Linked DNA regions of Homo sapiens: all the other regions are linked to region 2. The links are contacts of gene promoters, found by promoter capture Hi-C in blood cells and fetal thymus (Javierre and others, 2016). All regions are on one chromosome and are shown on one strand. The core of a region is centred on a gene start or on the middle of the fragment in contact, and the rest is flanking DNA. Distances in the headings are between cores, read along the strand shown.

Region 1 (2,700 bases), core at 76-2,575, 180 kb after region 2:
CTTGCTGCTTCCTGCATCCCAGTCTAATGCCAGTGATTTGCCCTGACTGTGACCTTGACCAGGTCAACAGAGCTTTTCTTCCTCATTAACTTGTCAGCTACCAATGCACTGCCTCAAATACCCTGGACTGATCTATCTCCCCCTGCCGCAACCTCAGAAAGTCCCAAATCTCTTCAGCCAGGTGTTCTGTAGACAAGGGTCCACACTGGCCAGCTCTGGGCCCACGGCCATTTTATTTGAAGAGTGAGGGTTCTTGCACCATAGCTGTGGGAAATTTGCATTAAAATTCGCATTTCTAGCCTCTCTTAAAATAAACGTTCAGGCTACAGAGTTCCCCATCGTCCCTGCCTGAGCAAAAACCCTGTGTCGCACATTATTCTGGGTATGTCACATATATCAAGTCCTTTAGTCCTTATAACAATGGGAATTCCTATTCCATCAACAAAGAAACCAGACGCAGAGAGTGAGCTGGCACACAAAGATCATCTTCACAGCCTGGAAATGGCAGAAGTGGAACTCAAACCCAAGTCCAGTGACTCCAAAAACTCGGAGCTCCTACTGCTTCTCGTTCAAGGCAATGGGGTTACTGCCTCACAGCCCTGCAAACTGAAGTCTCAAATTCTCTCCAGTTCACATGGTTTTCTAGTTGACCTCTCCTTTCCTCCTCGACAATTGGCATGGAGCTGAGCTTAGAGAAGCTTCCTCCCCGAGTCTCTCTCCCTCTGGACTGACTTCCTGGGAAATGTCCTAGGGTCCAGATTGAACCCCAGTTTCCCTTTATTACCCACACTGTCACCATGATAGTGAGACAAACGCCAAGGGTCTGGCTTTGTGGGCACACCATGGTCTAATCCAGCTCACCTTCCTCCTTCATCTTTCTCCCTTCTCCTCCTGTCATCCCATGTCCCCAGGAAAACTAAGCCACTCCCCGATTCCACAGCCAGTTGCTCTTTCCTACCGCCTTCCCCAGCTCACACCAGACCCCCTGTCGGAAATTCTCTCCTCACTCCATTTCCCCTGGCCCTCAATTGTGTCCTCCCCCATCCCAATCACATGTGACCTCCTGCTTTCTCTTAGGCATAGATTTTGGAGCCAGACAGACCTGGATATGAATCCAGCTCTGCCATGTGCCAGCTGGGTTACCCTTAGGCGATGCACTGTCCTTGCATTCCTCAACTTCCCCATCTGTAAAATGGGTTTTTTTGATAATTCATCTCATCCTCTCTCCAACTGCTATTAATTCAATGAGGACTCGATGGGATGATGTTTGCAAAGCACCTCCCACATAGTAGGTGCTGCCTGGCTTGCATTAGACCATTGTCAATGTCTCTTCTCTTATGCTCTGCACTTTAAGCACCCTGAAGGCAGAATCTTATTTTTGTGCACTTTTTTTTGCCCTGGGCCTAGTAGGCCACATGGCACGTAGCAAGAAGTTCATGCTTTGAGTATTGCAGGAAGAAACATGAGTCTCAGTGTTTCAGGGATTAGGCCCAAAGTGTCCTTGGCTCACTGACAACAGCAGGGGTGGGGTCCCAGCCTGGGAGTGTCAGGCAGACAGGCAGGTGGCTAGAGAGGAAATGTCACCTTTGAACTCAAGGCGATCTTGGTCATGTAGTCAGTCAGTCAATCACTAGCTTATTGAGCACCTATGATGTGCTGACGTTGTACTAGGAACAGGGGTTACAGGAGTAAACAGAACAGATGAAGTCTTCGCTCTCAGAATGTTTATATTTTAGGTCAGGGAGACGGATCATAAACTCAAAAGCAAAGAAGCAAGTGAGATGATTTCAGATGTTGCTAAGCACTATGAAGACAGTCCAGCCCAGTGATGTAATTGGAGATCAATGTCAGCAAAGGCCAGGCTGAATCGACAGGGAGACAGCAGTGCATAAATGTGGGGAAGAACAATCCAAGCAGAAGAAAGAGCACATGCAAAGGCCCTGGGGTGGGAACAAGCTTGGCGGGTTCAAGAAAAAGGAAGGAGGGCATTTGTGTCTGACACAACAAGAGGGTGACAAGAATAATGACGAGAGTTGTGGGAGATGAGATCAGAGCAGAGGGAGACAGGGCTGCGTGGGGGCCTATGGGCTGACTGAAAAGCCTACAGTTTCTTCTAAAATTGGAGGTGAGTGACACGATCTGATTCCCACTAGTGGAAGTGTCCCTGGCTGCTTTGGGAAGAATGAATTGCCTGGGTTGGGGCGGGAGCAAGGATGGAGGCAGAAACAAGCAAAGAGGCCGTAGGTATCCGAGCAAGAAAAGATTGCAGCCAGGCCGGGCGCGGTGGCTCACACCTGTAATCCCAGCACTTTGGGAGGCCGAAGTGGGAGGATCCCTTGAGCCCAGGAGTTCAAGACCAGCCTGGGCAATATGGTGAAACCCTGTCTCTACAAAAAATACAAAAATCAGCCAATCATGATGGCCCACGCCAGTGGTACCAGTTACTTAGGAAGCTGAGGTGGAGGATTGCTTGAGCCCAGGAGGTCAAGGCTGCAATGAGCCATGATAGCGCCACTGCACTCCAGTCTGGGTGATGGAAAGAGACTCTGTCTCAAAACAGACAAGAAAGCAGCCAGTTTCAACATGGTACCCATGGAGACAGAGTCAAGATTTGGGAGACGTGAAGGAGGATGGGAGGAATTAAGGATGACTCCTGTATCGCCAGCAGGAGCCACTGGGTCTGTGAAGAGTTCACAATTC
Region 2 (2,700 bases), core at 63-2,562:
AGTGGGGAGAGGAGGGAGATCTGTCACATGCTGCAAGGGGCAAAGGTCACAGGTGAGGCGAAGGGGAGGGATGGGGACACCCTGGGGCCAGCCAGCGGTGAGCGCCCCAGGCTAAGACAAGGCTGACCCCACTGCCGAGAGAGGGCGGGCAGGGGGTGAGATTGAGGGCTGGGTTCATTTTATTGTATTTTGCCTCCAGCGTGGGGCCAGAGACGCTCTTTCCCCCGGGAGACAAAAGGCCTGCAGTTGTGGCGTCCTGCCCCGCTGGGAGGGCGTTTCGCCCCCAGGACTCGGTGTCCCGAGGTTGAGGCTACTGGTCACCCTGGCTTCAGAAAGCGAAGAATTCAGGAACCTCTGATCACCCCACCCTGACTCCTGATCATTCAGTTGGGGCGTCCCCTCAAACCCACCAGCAAGGAGCTCAGAGTTGGTGAGTTCAGAGCTGTATCAAGTCTTGACGGGCTCCCTCCCTCCCATTTCCCACCTCTTTGGGCCCCCAGATCCTCACACCAGCACCAACTCCCTGTAAACCCAACTACCTGCTGGAAAGGAGTTATAGGCCCGGCCTGGGGGCCTGAGGAGGACGGCGGCGGCTGGAGACGTCTGCACGGGGCGGAACTGGAAGGGGAGGAAGAAACCTGTGCCTAGCACTTGGCAGACCCACTTTGCCAAGCCTCGGAACCAGATACGGTTACTGGGGGCTTCTCAGAGCGGCAGGAAGGTAGAGTAAGAACCGGACACCGGGGCTCTGACATTACACAGAAAAGGTCAGAATTCCTCCCTTCAAGTCACCCTAGGCCGGTTCCCGGGGAGCCTCACTGGAGGAATTTCAGAGGGTGTAAGACGAGGGAGAAGATGAGAAATAGGGCGGACTCTGGCCCTCGGAGGCCAGAGAAAAGGCGAGACTCCAGAGAGGCGCCGGACCCGAGGCAGACATTCCCATACAGCCGGGACTCCGAGAGCAGCCGTGGGCGACCTGGGGGCCGGGGACTCGGCGGATCCGGCCCATTCATCAAAGGAAGGCACTGGGACAAAGTTGGCCCCCTCCCCTTCTCCCCCAGCCCCCAACTCGCCGGGATCGGCTCCCTCTCTTTTCACGGCGGTTCAAATTCTCCCCCAAAACGAGGTCGAGCCGGGGATTAGAAAAGAGGGAAAAAAATATTCGTTGGCGATTTCTTTTCGTTATTGGTCCTCCGCTCCCTTGCGCCCTGGCCCCCTTCCCTCCTCATGAATAAAAGAAAAGTCCGAACCTATCAGATCGCGCTCACTGCCTCCTCCTCCTCCTCCTCCTCCTCCTCCTCGTACTTCGGTGAACACTTTTGCACAACTTACCCAGCTGATCACTCGCGCCCCCTCGCTTTTCCATTTCTCTTTCCCCAACCCCGTCACCCCCTGTCTCCTCCGTCCAGCCCTGAAACCCGAGGAGGCTCCTTCTTCCGTCTGTCCCCGGGTCTCCTAGGGGACGGGGCTGTGAAAGCTGGTGTGGAGGGAGAAGCGAGTGTGGTCCGGAGAAAGAAGGCGTGGAGAAGAGGGAGGGAGCGAGAGCGAGAGAATAAATATATAAATAAATACGAGAACGAAATCCACTCCGCAGTCTCCGGGCTCGGAAACTTTGGCCCCGAGCGCCAGAGCGCCAGAGCGCGAGAGCGCGGCGCTCGCCACTCTGAGGCTGGCGGCCTCGATTCCGGCCGCGTTCCCCCGGCCCCCCTCCGCCGCGGGGCCTGGTCTCCGGGTTCTGCCAGGCGCATCAGCCCGCACAACTTCTGGCCGAGGCCAGCCGGCAGAGGCGGACTTGGGGTTGGAGTGTTTGTTTGTTTGAACTTCCTCGTCGTCGCCACCTTCCCTCCCCCCAACCTCCACCCCACCTCACCCCCCTCCCCAGCTTCTGGACGCGTTTGACTGCAGCCAGGGGTGGGGGGTGGGGGTAGGGAGTGTGTGTGGAGGGGAGGGAGAAGAGGTTAAAAAAAAGAAGACGAAGAAGACGGAAAGAAAGAGATCGCAGCAGGGGTGAAGGGAGCGGACGGGAAGCGATTTTTGCCGACTTTGGATTCGTCCCCGGCGTGCGCAAGAATGGCGGCCCTTCCCGGCACGGTACCGAGAATGATGCGGCCGGCTCCGGGGCAGAACTACCCCCGCACGGGATTCCCTTTGGAAGGTAAGAACGCCCAGGCTGGCCTCGCCGCGACTCCGCCGCCCGGAACTCGGGGTCCTTGGAGAGGCTGCGGTCTCCAGGGGACGGTGGCGGCGCCGGCGATAGCAGAGGGATCCCGTTCTCTTCTGGGTCCCAGTCCGGGCGCGGAACCCAGGGAGTTTCTGGGACCCATACTTGTCCGCTTCTGCGTGGGTTTCACTGCCCGGCGGCCTTCGTTTCGCAGGTCGCTAGCTGCCGGTCTTTACCCGCAGGGCTGAAATTCTGGTAGATTTGGACTCCTAGTAAATATCAGGTCCTGGTGAATTTCAGCTCTTTCCACTATTTCCAGACACTTCTTCCCTGACAGTTTCTCGGCTCTCCTGGCTCGCTGGCTGCCAGCTTTCTACTCTTGTTTTGAATTATTTTTTCCACCCCCGGGATTGGTCTTCCAGTCCTTTATTTCGAACCACCTACCATGGGTGATACTTTATATGCCTCAACTACCACGGCTATCCATTTCTTCCGAAGCCACAGTCAAACACTCCTGCTTTTCCGCCTGGAAACAAACT
Region 3 (2,700 bases), core at 81-2,580, 210 kb after region 2:
GACTTAACCCTTCCTTGCCATGGCTTTCGGTCTTGCTTATAACTTGGTATCTTATTGCCACAAAGAGCCTATTATGTCTGTCTTATGATCTCGATTTTACCATGAATGCTGGTTAGTTGTGCCTAAACCCCAAAATGGAAGGGACATAACAAGGCATATCTGACTTCCCTTCTCTTCATGACCTAGGACTCTGTTTTTAAGGTTTCTCTGGTCCCCTTGGCCAAGAGGGGGTCCTTACCATAAGGTGCGGGATGGGAGAAAAACAGAGTCAAGGATGACTCAGGTTTCTGGTCTGAGTGATGGAGATGCCACCTGTGAGACCCGACCACACCTTCCTCCTTACCTATGAGGCTCAGCTCCAGCCTCTGCCTTCCCCTTGTCACCCTTTCCTTCCCCCTCTGCAGCCCCAGCCACTGGAGGAAATTCTGGCCCATTTCACCTGGTCTGGAGCCAGGTCGCCCGATTGCAGCCAACTCCCCACAAAGGACACTCCCACCAGGTCCAGTGCCAGCCCTGCAAATGGCTCCAGGGATTGCCCTGCCCAGCCAACAAGTGCTCAAGGCTTCAAGCAGCAATGGGCCGTAGGTGACCACAACAGGTGAGAAAAGAGCTGCACAGAGAACAGAGCTGAACCTCTCCTGCAGGAAGTCCCAGACCAGAAAGACAGCAGCCAGGTCCCAAGCGTTAGGACCAACGGTATGAAGCTCAAGAGGCTATGGGAGCAGAGAATCCCCTCTGCCACAAGGCAGGAAAGGCTTCCCGGGGGAGGAGGCATTTGACCCGGGCCCTGAAGGATAAATACAAGCTTCCCATAGGAAGATCAAGAAGGAACATCTTGAGCAAAGGTGTGAAATCAGGAACCATGTTTGGGGACAGCCAGGAGTCCAGTGGGGCCACTGGGAGATGAGGCTGGGAAGATGAGCAGGATTCAGATTTTGTGAGGCTTTCCACACACAAAGGAGGTCAGGCATGACTGTCCAGGAAGTCCTCACTTAATGCTGTAGTGGATAGGTTTTTGGAAACTGCGACTTTAAGCAAAAGGACGTACAGCGGGTCCTCAAATAACGTTGTTTCATTATAACATATTATAATACGGATGAGAACAAAATATTGGTTTCATTATATGCCTTGTCCTTTTATCTAAAGTCAGAGTTTCCAAGAATGTAGCAACAACGTTAATGAGGACTTACTGCCCAGGCACTGGGGAGCCACAGGAGGTTCCTGAGGCAGGAGGGCTCCTGACTGTGTCAGGTTTAGGGGACATGACTCAGGCGGCCAGAGACTGTGGATTTGGGAAGGATGACAGGAACCAAAGAAAGGAAAGCTCGAAAAGTGGTCGAAGAGAGGGGCTTGCAAATCAGAGTGTCCAAAGGAAAGGACCGGGATGGTGGCCAAAATCATGTCCTAAGAGCACCTGGGACCTTCAGACCAAAGAAGAGATGACGTGAGGAGAACACAATTGCTGTAACCCCTCCCAAATCCCCCCTTTGAGCCCAAATCCTAGCTCGCTCACTTAAGAGCTGGGTGACCCTGGGCAAGTTAATCAGCGTCTCTGAGCTTCAGTTTCCTTTACAGTAGTACAGGGATGCTTTGGGTTGCAGAGGACAGAAAATCCAACTCAAGTTAACTTAAGCAATAAGGGATATTAACCGACTCATGAAATGGAAGTTTTCAGAGGCAGGGCTGCCGTCAGGTGAGATCCAATAGCTCACAAAGAGTTTTAAGGGCTGAGTTTTTCTATCCTTCCTCTTTGCCTTCTATAAGGTTCAGCTTTCCCCTGAGGCTGACTCGCCTCGTGATCCCACAAGAACTGCCCCCAGCTCTTTGCTCTAGGGCCTTTCAAGTTATTATACAAAGAAGCTTGGTTCCAGCAAAAGTTCTGAGAGTCTCTCTGATTGGACCAACCAAGGTCATGTGCCCACCTCTGAGCCAATCACTGCAGACTGGGAAGAACAGTGCCGATTGGCTTGGCCTAGGTCACTTGCTGCAGCCCCTGGAGCCAGGAGATGGCCTCATCTTCCCTGGAACCATATAGGGGCTGCCAGGTAGGGCGGAGGGAAGGGGTGTGGGAGGCATCAGCCTGTGTCCACCAACGTCACTGGTACCCATGGGGCATGGTCATTCTGGGGACTGGAGATGATGTGTGAAAAGTACCTGGCACACAGCAGGTGCTCCTTGAAAGGCAATTCTTTTTGTTATTGTATATAAAAGGCATCATGAGAAAGAGGAATTCGATTTTGTGGGGAAGGGTGAGACAAGATCTTGCTCTGTCGCCCAGGCTGCAATGCAGTGGCACAATCACTGCTCACTGTAGCCTTGAACTCCTGCACTCAACAGATCCTCCTGCCTCAGCTTCTTGAGTAGCTGGGACTACAAGCGTGCACCACCATGCCCAGCTAATTTTTACTTCTGTAGAGATGGGGTCTTGCTACATTGCCCAGGTTGATCTCAAACTCCTGGCCTCAAGCAATCTTCCCACGTTGGCCTCCCAAAGTGCTGAGATTACAGGTGTGAGCTACCATGCTTAGGCTAGGAATTAGATTTAATTCATGGTCCCAAAGGATAAAACTAGTGTCCATAAACTGAAATCCCAGGGAGTAGGGTTTTGATTGAATCTAAGAATTTTTTGACAACTACAGTTGTCCTCGGTGAGGCTCCCATCACCGGAGGGGAACTTTAAAGGCTTAACATCCCAGCCTC

Evidence for each region. Contacts are between HindIII fragments. The CHiCAGO score rates a contact against its expected background, and 5 or more counts as called.
Region 1: a fragment that was not itself captured here is called in contact with the fragment with the promoter of PAX7 in region 2 in 1 of 17 cell types (naive CD4 T cells); the score reaches 5.3 in naive CD4 T cells.
Region 3: a fragment that was not itself captured here is called in contact with the fragment with the promoter of PAX7 in region 2 in 1 of 17 cell types (endothelial precursors); the score reaches 7.2 in endothelial precursors.

What each region holds. Positions count from the first base shown.
Region 1 is chr1:18,810,784-18,813,483 of GRCh38, forward strand. No RefSeq gene overlaps it. Among named protein-coding and RNA genes, the nearest start is that of TAS1R2, 48 kb to the right of the region's middle. The HindIII fragment of the contact is 1,258 bases long and covers 697-1,954 here.
Region 2 is chr1:18,629,534-18,632,233 of GRCh38, forward strand. PAX7 (paired box 7) reads left to right here and starts at 1,313. Exons shown (of 9, transcript NM_001135254.2): 1 at 1,313-2,155. The coding sequence starts at 2,071. RefSeq lists promoters at 997-1,782, 1,186-2,096, 1,820-2,096 and enhancers at 2,636-2,700, 2,644-2,700. The HindIII fragment of the contact is 4,552 bases long and covers 1-2,700 here.
Region 3 is chr1:18,834,913-18,837,612 of GRCh38, forward strand. No RefSeq gene overlaps it. Among named protein-coding and RNA genes, the nearest start is that of TAS1R2, 23 kb to the right of the region's middle. The HindIII fragment of the contact is 1,055 bases long and covers 804-1,858 here.